Linked DNA regions of Homo sapiens: region 2 is linked to region 1. The links are contacts of gene promoters, found by promoter capture Hi-C in blood cells and fetal thymus (Javierre and others, 2016). All regions are on one chromosome and are shown on one strand. Each heading gives the region's core, a stretch centred on a gene start or on the middle of the fragment in contact. The rest is flanking DNA. Distances are from core to core; before and after follow the strand shown. Region 1 holds the start of IRAK1BP1 (interleukin 1 receptor associated kinase 1 binding protein 1). Region 2 overlaps HMGN3-AS1 (HMGN3 antisense RNA 1).

Evidence for each region. Contacts are between HindIII fragments. The CHiCAGO score rates a contact against its expected background, and 5 or more counts as called.
Region 2: a fragment that was not itself captured here is called in contact with the fragment with the promoter of IRAK1BP1 in region 1 in 4 of 17 cell types (naive B cells, activated CD4 T cells, non-activated CD4 T cells and 1 more); the score reaches 6.6 in naive B cells.

Annotation. Positions count from the first base shown.
Region 1 is chr6:78,865,484-78,870,190 of GRCh38, forward strand. It overlaps IRAK1BP1 (interleukin 1 receptor associated kinase 1 binding protein 1), which reads left to right and starts at 2,068. Exons shown (of 4, transcript NM_001010844.4): 1 at 2,068-2,408. The coding sequence starts at 2,094. LOC107986613 (a long non-coding RNA gene) reads right to left here and starts at 2,007. Exons shown (of 2, transcript XR_001744210.2): 1 at 1,905-2,007. RefSeq lists enhancers at 1,963-2,072, 2,103-2,422, 2,255-2,855. The HindIII fragment of the contact is 7,957 bases long and covers 1-4,707 here.
Region 2 is chr6:79,235,548-79,240,254 of GRCh38, forward strand. HMGN3-AS1 (HMGN3 antisense RNA 1) reads left to right here. Exons shown (of 2, transcript NR_040671.1): 2 at 1-1,253. Among named protein-coding and RNA genes, the nearest start is that of HMGN3, 3.2 kb to the left of the region's middle. The HindIII fragment of the contact is 1,879 bases long and covers 1,255-3,133 here.

The sequences.
Region 1 (4,707 bases), core at 818-3,317:
AACTTTTCCTTCATGGTTGCTGCACATGAAATTATGATTAAGGCCAGCCTTCCCATCCCCCAGAATATTTATATTTACATATAGGTTCTTCCAATTATTTTTCTTTTTGGTCTCATCTGAATTATTTTCAATGTATGATATAAGATACAAATTCTTTAAAAATATAGCTTACAATGGGCCAGGCACCGTGGCTCATGCCTGTAATCCCAGCACTTCGGGAGGCCGAGGTGGACGGATCACGAGGTCAGGAGATCGAGACCATCCTGGCTAACACGGTGAAACCCCATCTCTACTAAAAATACAAAAAAATTAGCCGGGCGTGGTGGCGGGCACATGTAGTCCCAGCTACTCGGGAGCTGAGGCAGGAGAATGGCGTGAACCCGGGAGGCGGAGCTTGCAGTGAGCCCAGATCGCACCACTGCACTCCAGCCAGAATGACAGAGCGAGACTCCGCCTCAAAAAAAAAAAAATATATATATATATAAAATATACTATAGCTATATAGCTATAGTATATTATATATATAGCTTACAATTATCCCTGTACCATGTAATCATTTTCCACTGATATGAAATCTTTTATCGTATACTAAATACTTACACTTTAACTCCTGTTGCTTTTTGTTTATGACATTCACTCATTCAATAATTTATTTTGGAGGCTATATTCTTCCGCATTTATCGTAAGGGAAAAAGAATTTTTCACCAAGTTTAAGAAACATTATTTTGGGTGTCTTAAATAATAAAAGACTATGACGGAAAGTTCTTAACGTTAGTTTTTAAATTAAAATTGTTTTCAGCTAACAATAAACAAGATGGATATACACAAAATTATGTTAATCTAGTGATGAGCCTAATTAAAGGAGGGGGGTACCATTGATTTAGTTGAATTATACTAATCGAAAAGAACAGAAAAAACGATGGTGAAGAAACTACAAGAGGACTGTCAGCTTTTCAGGGTCCTTTTAAAAGAACAGTTCTTGTCCTTCTAGAACTAGTTATTCAAAATTCTTTTTTCCCCCCTCGATTCTCTTGATAAAATTCAGATAGTAAAGACGTATAAGTCAGTGGGGCTATTTTTACAAAGATCATTGCTTAGTGCTAGGAAGAGAATCCAGAAGACGGGAAGTTGAGGGTTGTGTTCTAAAAGTTCTCTGAAGAAAAGGGTACAGAGAAGCTCCAAGTTGTGCAGGCCCAGCAAACTCCATGTTGGACGTGCTTTGCTACCACCTAAATCTCTTCTGTCGGAATTCAAGGCCCGAACCATTCCAGGGATTTTAGAAAAAAATGGGGAGACACAAAAATGATGCCAAAGCCATAGCTATCATTACAAACATCCATTATGTTCACTCTGCTTTCCATATGCAACGCACTCTACATACAATGGGCGCCTTATAAGCACATAGCAAATGTGAAAAATATTATCAACATTGCTTTGATAATATTAATATATTATATATATTAGAATATATTATATATTAGAATATATTATATATATTAGAATATATTATATATTACTAATATAAAAAATATTATCAACCCTGCTTTAGAGAAGATGATACTGAGATATGAAGAATCATAAACTGTCCAAGATCACAGGGGCAAAAAGTTCACCTCAACTGAAACCTCTCACGAACCACAAAAATGTGGCCGAGGGAGCCTCAAAAAGCAGTACCCCAAGCGGGGACGGTAAAGTCAGAAAAGACAAGGCTGGGGGTAATCACAGAGAAATCTAAAAACCCGCTCGGCCTCGCTACTCTTCTCCTTCCTCTGAGGTGCAGAGGCGCGGTGGGACGACAAGGAGTTGCGAGAAAGGGCAGAGCTCACTGAGGAGGCAACAGAGAAAGTCCGCTAACAATTTTTGAAGGCCGTAAGTTAAACATGTTAAAAACTGTAGCTACTCACTCAGCCGACATCTAGTAAAAAAGATGCGGCAAGATCAACAAGGCATATAGCTTGCGCCCGCCAGAAGTTCCGCGGCCTCCACACCCATCCCGGCATACTTTGCGCCGTGCACAGGCAAGCCCTGGTGCGCATTGGCCCCTTCGGCCGCCGTCGGCCGGTAGTTACTATGGAAACCCAGCTGCCATCGCTATGTCTCTGCAAAAGACCCCTCCGACCCGAGTGTTCGTGGAACTGGTTCCCTGGGCTGACCGGAGCCGGGAGAACAACCTGGCCTCAGGGAGAGAGACGCTACCGGGCTTACGCCACCCCCTCTCCTCAACACAAGCCCAAACTGCTACCCGCGAGGTGCAAGTAAGCGGCACCTCAGAAGTGTCTGCGGGCCCTGACCGGGCGCAGGTGGTGGTGCGAGTGAGCAGCACCAAGGAGGCGGCAGCCGAGGCCAAAAAGAGCGTTTGTCGCCGTCTAGATTACATCACGCAGAGCCTCCAGCAGCAGGGCGTGCAGGTGAGATCTCCGCGGGGGAGGAAATAAGAGCCGGAAGACACAAAAGGGTTGGCAGATGGTCGGGCCCCACAGGCCCCCCTAGCGGGAAGGGAGATGTGGAGGGTCTGGAGCGTTTAGGACGCGTTTGTTGCAAAGGTACTCCGGGACGCCAGGACCTGGCAGAGTGAATATTTGACCCATTCTTCTCCTAGACGAAGGTAATTATTGGCCTCAGGCAAATTAAAAATAAAAGAATGCAAATTGGGTAGGTTTTTATCTGGGGATATTTGCTTCAGTGATTTTGTTTTTAAATTTAAAGTGATGAAATGTTAAAACTTGAAATGTTAGTTGTAAATACTTGCCCACGTGGAGTGCTGGACACTAAATATTTTGTTTTGTTTTGTTTTTATTCCGCACCATGGAATTGGCAAGTGAAGAGCACGACCTGCTTCCTTCCGATCATGTAAAACTTTGCATGGAATGGTTCTTGAGTATGTTCCGCAAACAGTAACGTTGGGAAGTGGGGAAGAAGTTGCGTCCATTTTCATTTTATAATGATTTTCATTTTATAGTGATTCCCCCAAAATTTCTTCGGCCTTCTTAGGTTTAACTTAAAAGAAAAAATCAAGCCAGTATTGTGGATACCACATATACGAAATACTTCTACTTACTTAACGGAGATGTCCATGAGACAAATCACTAAACAAATCTTACCTTAAGCCTACTCCTAAGGCAAGAAAAAAAATGAAGCCATCATTTAATCCACACAATAGCACTGTTAGGCATGTTTTAATATCCCTGTTTTCCAAATTTAAAGAGGTTAAACAATGCTCTGAACTTTAGGTAGAGCAATATTTGAACTCATGTATTCCTGAAACCAGAATGTAAGTTGCTTCCAATTCTGCCGATAATTAGAATGAAAGAAAATTAGAAATCATAGGGATCAACGATTTCAGTTTTCTCATTTTATAGAGTAGGACCCCAAAGGCCAGAGATGTAACTTATCCAGGATGACATTGAGTTGGTAAAAGTGCAGGCATTGTTACTTCCAGTCTATTGCAAGAAATTCCATACCCCGAAAAAGCAAGTCCTTATTTTTAACAAGAAAAGATATTTGAATTGCATTTATAATACAAACATACAAGTTATTACAAAGTCATTTGGACAAGATTTCTTCAAATGATTTTACAATTTAGAAAAATACAGATAATTATAAATAATGTGAGTAAAGTGGGTTTAATATGTAGAAAAATAGTTTTAAAAAACTGCTACTAGTGCTGTAGTCGTTTGAATAATGTTAACAAGTTTTTAAGTTATTTACATAAAATAAAAAGAGCTCACAGGTCTCTAATATATAAAACAACATAAGCTGGGCATGGTGGCTCATGCCTGTAATGCCAACACTTTGGGAGGCCAAGGCAGGTGGATCACTTGAGGCCAGGAGTTCGAGACCAGCCTGGCCAACATGGCAAAACCCAATCTCTAGTAAAAATACAAAAATTAGGTGGGCATGGTGGCACAGTCCTGTAATCCCAGCTACTAGGGTGACTGAGGCAGGAAAATCTCTTGAATCCGGGAGGCGAAGGTTTCAGTGAGCCGAGATGGTGCCACTGCACTCCAGCTTGGGTGACAGAGACTCTGTCTCAAATAAGTAGTAAGTAAATAAATTAACTAAGTCCAACTTAGAGTAATCAAGATTCAGTGTTCAAGGCAAGACATAAGAAAGACAGTAACCTCCCAATTATCTCTGCTAATGGATGAAAGCAGTCAGGTAGATAATTTGTTCAGGAGATAATACAAAATATCATTTATATTTTCAGAATGAATTATGGGTCTTCACAAAGTCTGTATTCATTTTAAACTTTAGAATTCTGAGCTGTAAGATTTATAAACATCACTTCCCTGCTTAAAGGGCTCCTCATAATCCAAACTCCTTTGCTTAAAAGATGGAGCCTGAGCCGGGCGTGGTGGCTCACGCCTGTAATCCCATCACTTTGGGAGGCCGAGGAGGGCAGATCACCTGAGGTGAGGAGTTCAAGACCAGCCTGACCAACATGGTGAAATCTCGTCTCTACTAAAAATACCAAAATTAGCCAAGCATGGTGGTGCATGCCTGTAATCCCAGTTACTTGTGAGGCTGAGGCAGGAGAATTGCTTGAACCCAGGAGGCGGAGGTTGCAGTCAGCTGAGTTCGTGCCATTGCACTCCAGCCTGGGCAACAAGAGTGAAACTCCGTCCCAAAAAAAAAAAAAAAAAAAAAAAAAAAAAAAGATGGAGCCTGACTATCCTCATCTCCTATCATATCTTCCTCCCCTCTATT
Region 2 (4,707 bases), core at 944-3,443, 370 kb after region 1:
AAAGTCGTGAACAAAATTTTAGTAAATGAAACTCAACAACATTTAAAGGGACAATACATCATGACCTGTGGGGCTTATCTTGGGAATGCAAAGCTGCTTTTTTAATATCTGAGAATCAATCAATGTAATTGGCAGGATTAATAGAATAAAGGGGGAAAAACAATCCTTTCAGCAGATGCAGGAAAAGCGCTAGTGAATGGGTAAGCAAATTGTGATGAGCACATGCAGTGGAATACTATTCAGCAATAAAAAACAATAAAAAATTTTCCTACATGGATGAATATCAAAAACAAAGTGCTGTACGAAAGAAGTCAAATACAAAAGACCACACTGAATGATTGCATTCATATGAAATTATAGAAAAAGCAAAATTGGGCAAAGTTAGTTTCAGAATCATCTTAGCAGGCAAAGCTCACATCATAGGAAAATGTGTTGAAGCCTTACATTACAAATATGGCCAAATCCACTTTGGTAACACAGAGGCTGCAAATATGTATTAAAAATATCATGTATTAAATATGTATTAAAAAAGCAATGAAGTTTAATATTTCACTTTTTCTTTAGTAATTTTCAGAATACATTAATTGATCTAGTACTCTCCAGAGGTGGTTGATTACTTTCTTTTTTGGAACATCTTTATGAACTCATGGATTTTTACATATTTGGTGTGCATCAGTGTATTGCTATCATTATTATTACCTTTTTAATGCTCCTATTACCACATCTTTAGCCAATGCATACCCTTTCAAATTAGTGCTTGTGTCCTTTTGACATGATCTTAATCATTTTTGATAGATTCCCTGTTCTTGGGCATTCAGTGAATGACAATAGTATACTGAAACGAATTAAGATAAAAACCAATTGCTTAGAGCTAGATAAAAATTTACAAGTTAATAATTTTATCATTAAAATAATATTTATAATGAAGATGTCTTTCAAGATATTAATTTGCCAAATACTTGATAGTTAAATAAAGAAAAAGTCAGTGAAAACATTTTTAGTAAGATATGTGTGAGAAGGATACTGAGTAGCACTTGCAATCTGGACTGGATGGCTATTTTTCTTCATGGAGATGGAAAGGTGCCACAACAAAGGTAGTGCTAAGGTGAATATTTCTCCTCTGTGATGAAAAATAACTCACAAAATTGGCTTCTTTGTTAATTTTTTTTCAAAACCAAACACTCAGATCATCAACAGCAAACAAAATTGTGAATGTTTTTACTGCACACAATAAAAATGCTACGATGAAATTGAAGCTTGCTTGTTGGATGAAGAAAGCTGATTGTGAGGACCTCGAGTTCTTGGAATCTTTAGTTCATTTACAAGTTATGAAAATAACAGCTTCGGTTGAAAAACAACAGCATTGCTTATCTTTCCTTTGATGTAGATTGCACCTGGCTGAGCACTACTCTAGGAAATGAAGTGTTCTCCCTTGTACCTTTAGTAGCCTTCAAGATCTGGGAAAGTCAGTGCAAACCTCTACTGGTGGCCCTGGAGGTAAGAAGAGTAGGCAAAGAGAATGATTTAGCAGGTAGCTAGAATTCTAGGTTAAGAGATAAAGACATCTGGGCAGAAATGAGGGTGTCACATAGAAGACAGTGAGGAGGTCAAGCTGGTAAGAAGTACAGACTCATTTGTTTATCAATATATTCCACTGAGCATTTCTACTACTTTGGAATATCAGCCTCTAAGACAGTAAAAGTAGGATGTATATACTATCTTAGCTAAGGTAGACCTGGATAAATTAACAGAGTTACTGACTGAGACAGAAAGAAAAAAAATAGTGAACAAACTTGTTTTCCAATTCCAGCTCCTCTCCTCTTTTGTCCTACTCAAAACTGTTGGAACTGTACACCTACTTCACATTTTTCAATCAGCAGGGCAAAACCATTTATAGTGTCATGACTATCATTAAGGAAAAGAAAGAGACAGAGACATTGACAGACACACACACGCAAACACACACACAGAGAGAGAGAGAGAGAGAGGGAGAAGGGAGAAGGGAAGGCTAAGAAAAGCAAAGAAAGGGCCAAGCATAGAAAATAGCAGAGTATATATGGTAAAGGTAAGTAATGTTTCATAAGATAATTGTTTCTATTTTCCATATGTGCTCATATAAACACATACACAACACAGATATGTATGTGTGTATGTTGGATTGTGACATGAAATATATTTTTAGTATGGTCTTGGTCAAAAAAATTGAATGCCACTGCTAATGAATGTTGTGGATCTTTGACATTCCGAAAAAAAAATGCTTAATATTAAAATTTTTTTTTTAGAGGTAAGATCTCATTCTGTTGCCCAGGCTGGCATGCAGTGGCACAATCATAGCTCACTGCACGTCAGACTGCTGGGCTGAAGAGATCCTCCTGCCTCAGCCTCCTGAGTAGTTATATAGGTGCAAGCCACCACACCAGGCTTGAGAGGAAGTTTTCAAGGGAAAGAATGACTTGCAGATCACCTCCTTCTTGAACTGTCCCTCTTTTCCTCTTTCAGGCAGACACAGGCAGGGTCCCTTAGGCTTTTGCTGTAAGTAATGACAAATTACTGGAGAAGTCAGATCCAGAATGTACATATTGTTGCTTTTGATAGTTGCAACTGTACACCTACTTTGCATTTTTCAGACAGCAGGGCAAAACAAATGATAGTCATGACTATCATTAAGGCAAAGAAAGAGACAGAGACATTGGCAGACAGACACACACACACACACACACACACACAGAGAGAGAGAGAGAGAGAGACAGACAGAGGGAGAAAGGAAGAAAGGGGAAAAGTGAAAATGATACTGTGTTGCTTCTGATAGTTTGTAATTCCAGATTAAGTTACTAATCTTCCATAAATAGGTCAAAAAATACACAGTGAAGAATTCAGGTGTGTAACAAAACAACATCAAAAACAACAAATAAGAGGTGGCAAAAGAATATTTTGTTTGTATTTTCCAGTCAAGTCTCTACTTTGATTGGGTGCTAACTTTTGAAGAGACCAAGGTTAGTTTTTACAAAGCAACAATAAGAGTCCAAGAACTAACGGTCCCAAATCAAATGAGCTGCCTGATATTAGTGCAGATCCCTAGGCCCCAGTCCCAAGGTATTGAATGGCTAGGCTTGGAAATCTGCATTTTCAAACAAGCTTTTCATGTGTTGCTTACACTATAATTCGGGGACTAGAGTATTTAATAGACTAGGCCCTTGCTCTCAACAAATATTTGCTGAATGCCGGTACTTGGATTCTGATGACAGGTATCTATAAAAGCCTGTGGAGTTCTCAACATACTTCCAGAGCAGGAGCGTAATTCTGTGGGTGAAACTCGCCCCACAGTCCTCACCTCATGCTTTTGCTCCATCTCAGTTTTGCTGGGCACAACCTGTTTATTTCACTTTCTTTCTCTTCTGTAGTTGCAAGGAACCTGAAGAGTGATTAAAAACTGCACACATCCAGATACCTAGAAAAGTGTCTTCTTCTTCCCAGGCAGCCCCTCTAGGCAGCTCCTTGGGCCCCTGGGAGATGAAAATCCCTGATCCCAAATCCTCAAAGGGAACTTACCTTGGCCAAAGCCCATAAGCCACACCCTTTCAAGGCTAAATGTCAATGATTGCATAAGCATACTTCACAACTGCATTAACAGCAAGAGGAACCAGGGCATTCTGTGACCTTCCAAGGAACCCACTCTTTGTTTTCCCAACCTTCAATCAAATTTAATATTTGTGCAGATTCTTTACCCCAGGTATGTTTTACACAGTTTTTCCACCCCTGGTACTTTTCAGGTTCAATCTCTGTGATATTTACCTCTCCTTCTTGCTCCTGCTGCTTAAACTCACAGGAGTGTGATTAATTTGCTCTTTTTAGCACCCAAATGACTATTTGGGAATGAATTAGATATGCTCAGTAGCTAGAACCAGGGATTGGGATACATTGGTTTAGCCATTCCTTTTTGTCAGATTGTTAGCATGGCTGGTGCCAAGAGCCATCCAGGCTCAAGGAGGTGAGAAAGTTAAGGGAAGGAAATCCCCAAAGTTCATGGTGAGGACACAGCAAAATAAGGACTCCATCCCATCCCCTTAGGTAAAAAGCCACAAGCTGCAAGGTGCCAAAGACCAATTAGTAGTTGTTGCAGAGCTCTCCGACTGAATTGCACATTCTTGTAAACTACTGTCAGTGCCAGTACACTCTCAAATGGGACCACACCCTTTTCTTTAAGCTAGTGATTTTGACTACCTATTTTTGGTGTCTTCTGCATTTCCTTCAAATCTCAGAATCCCTGGGAGCTTGTAAGGAACATTTAGTAACCCCATCCCCGTCGCTACCCTCAATGGTCCTGCCTTTCGGAGATATCATACCATTTTCCTTTTCTCAATGAAAGCAAGAAAATGCTGGTTTGGGGAAATGAGAGTCGAATGAATCATTCTGAAAAATACCATAAAGCAACTGGAGATGATTTTCAGGTTAGCTTGGTTAATAACTCTTGTAATTCTCAAGCACTAAGAAAGAGTTAGCCGATAAAATGAGTTTGGCCAGGTCAGAATGAATTCTAGCCACCAGGTCAGAATGAATTCTAGCCACAAGGCAATAAAGTTTTGCCCAGCAGTGGAAAACTAGCCTGCAAATGTGCCATAATCTTCAAGGCTGCTTATCTGCATAAGGCTTTTGTTGTTTTTAAAACACAGAATTGTGCTACTCCCACAAAAAAACTCTCATCCTTTT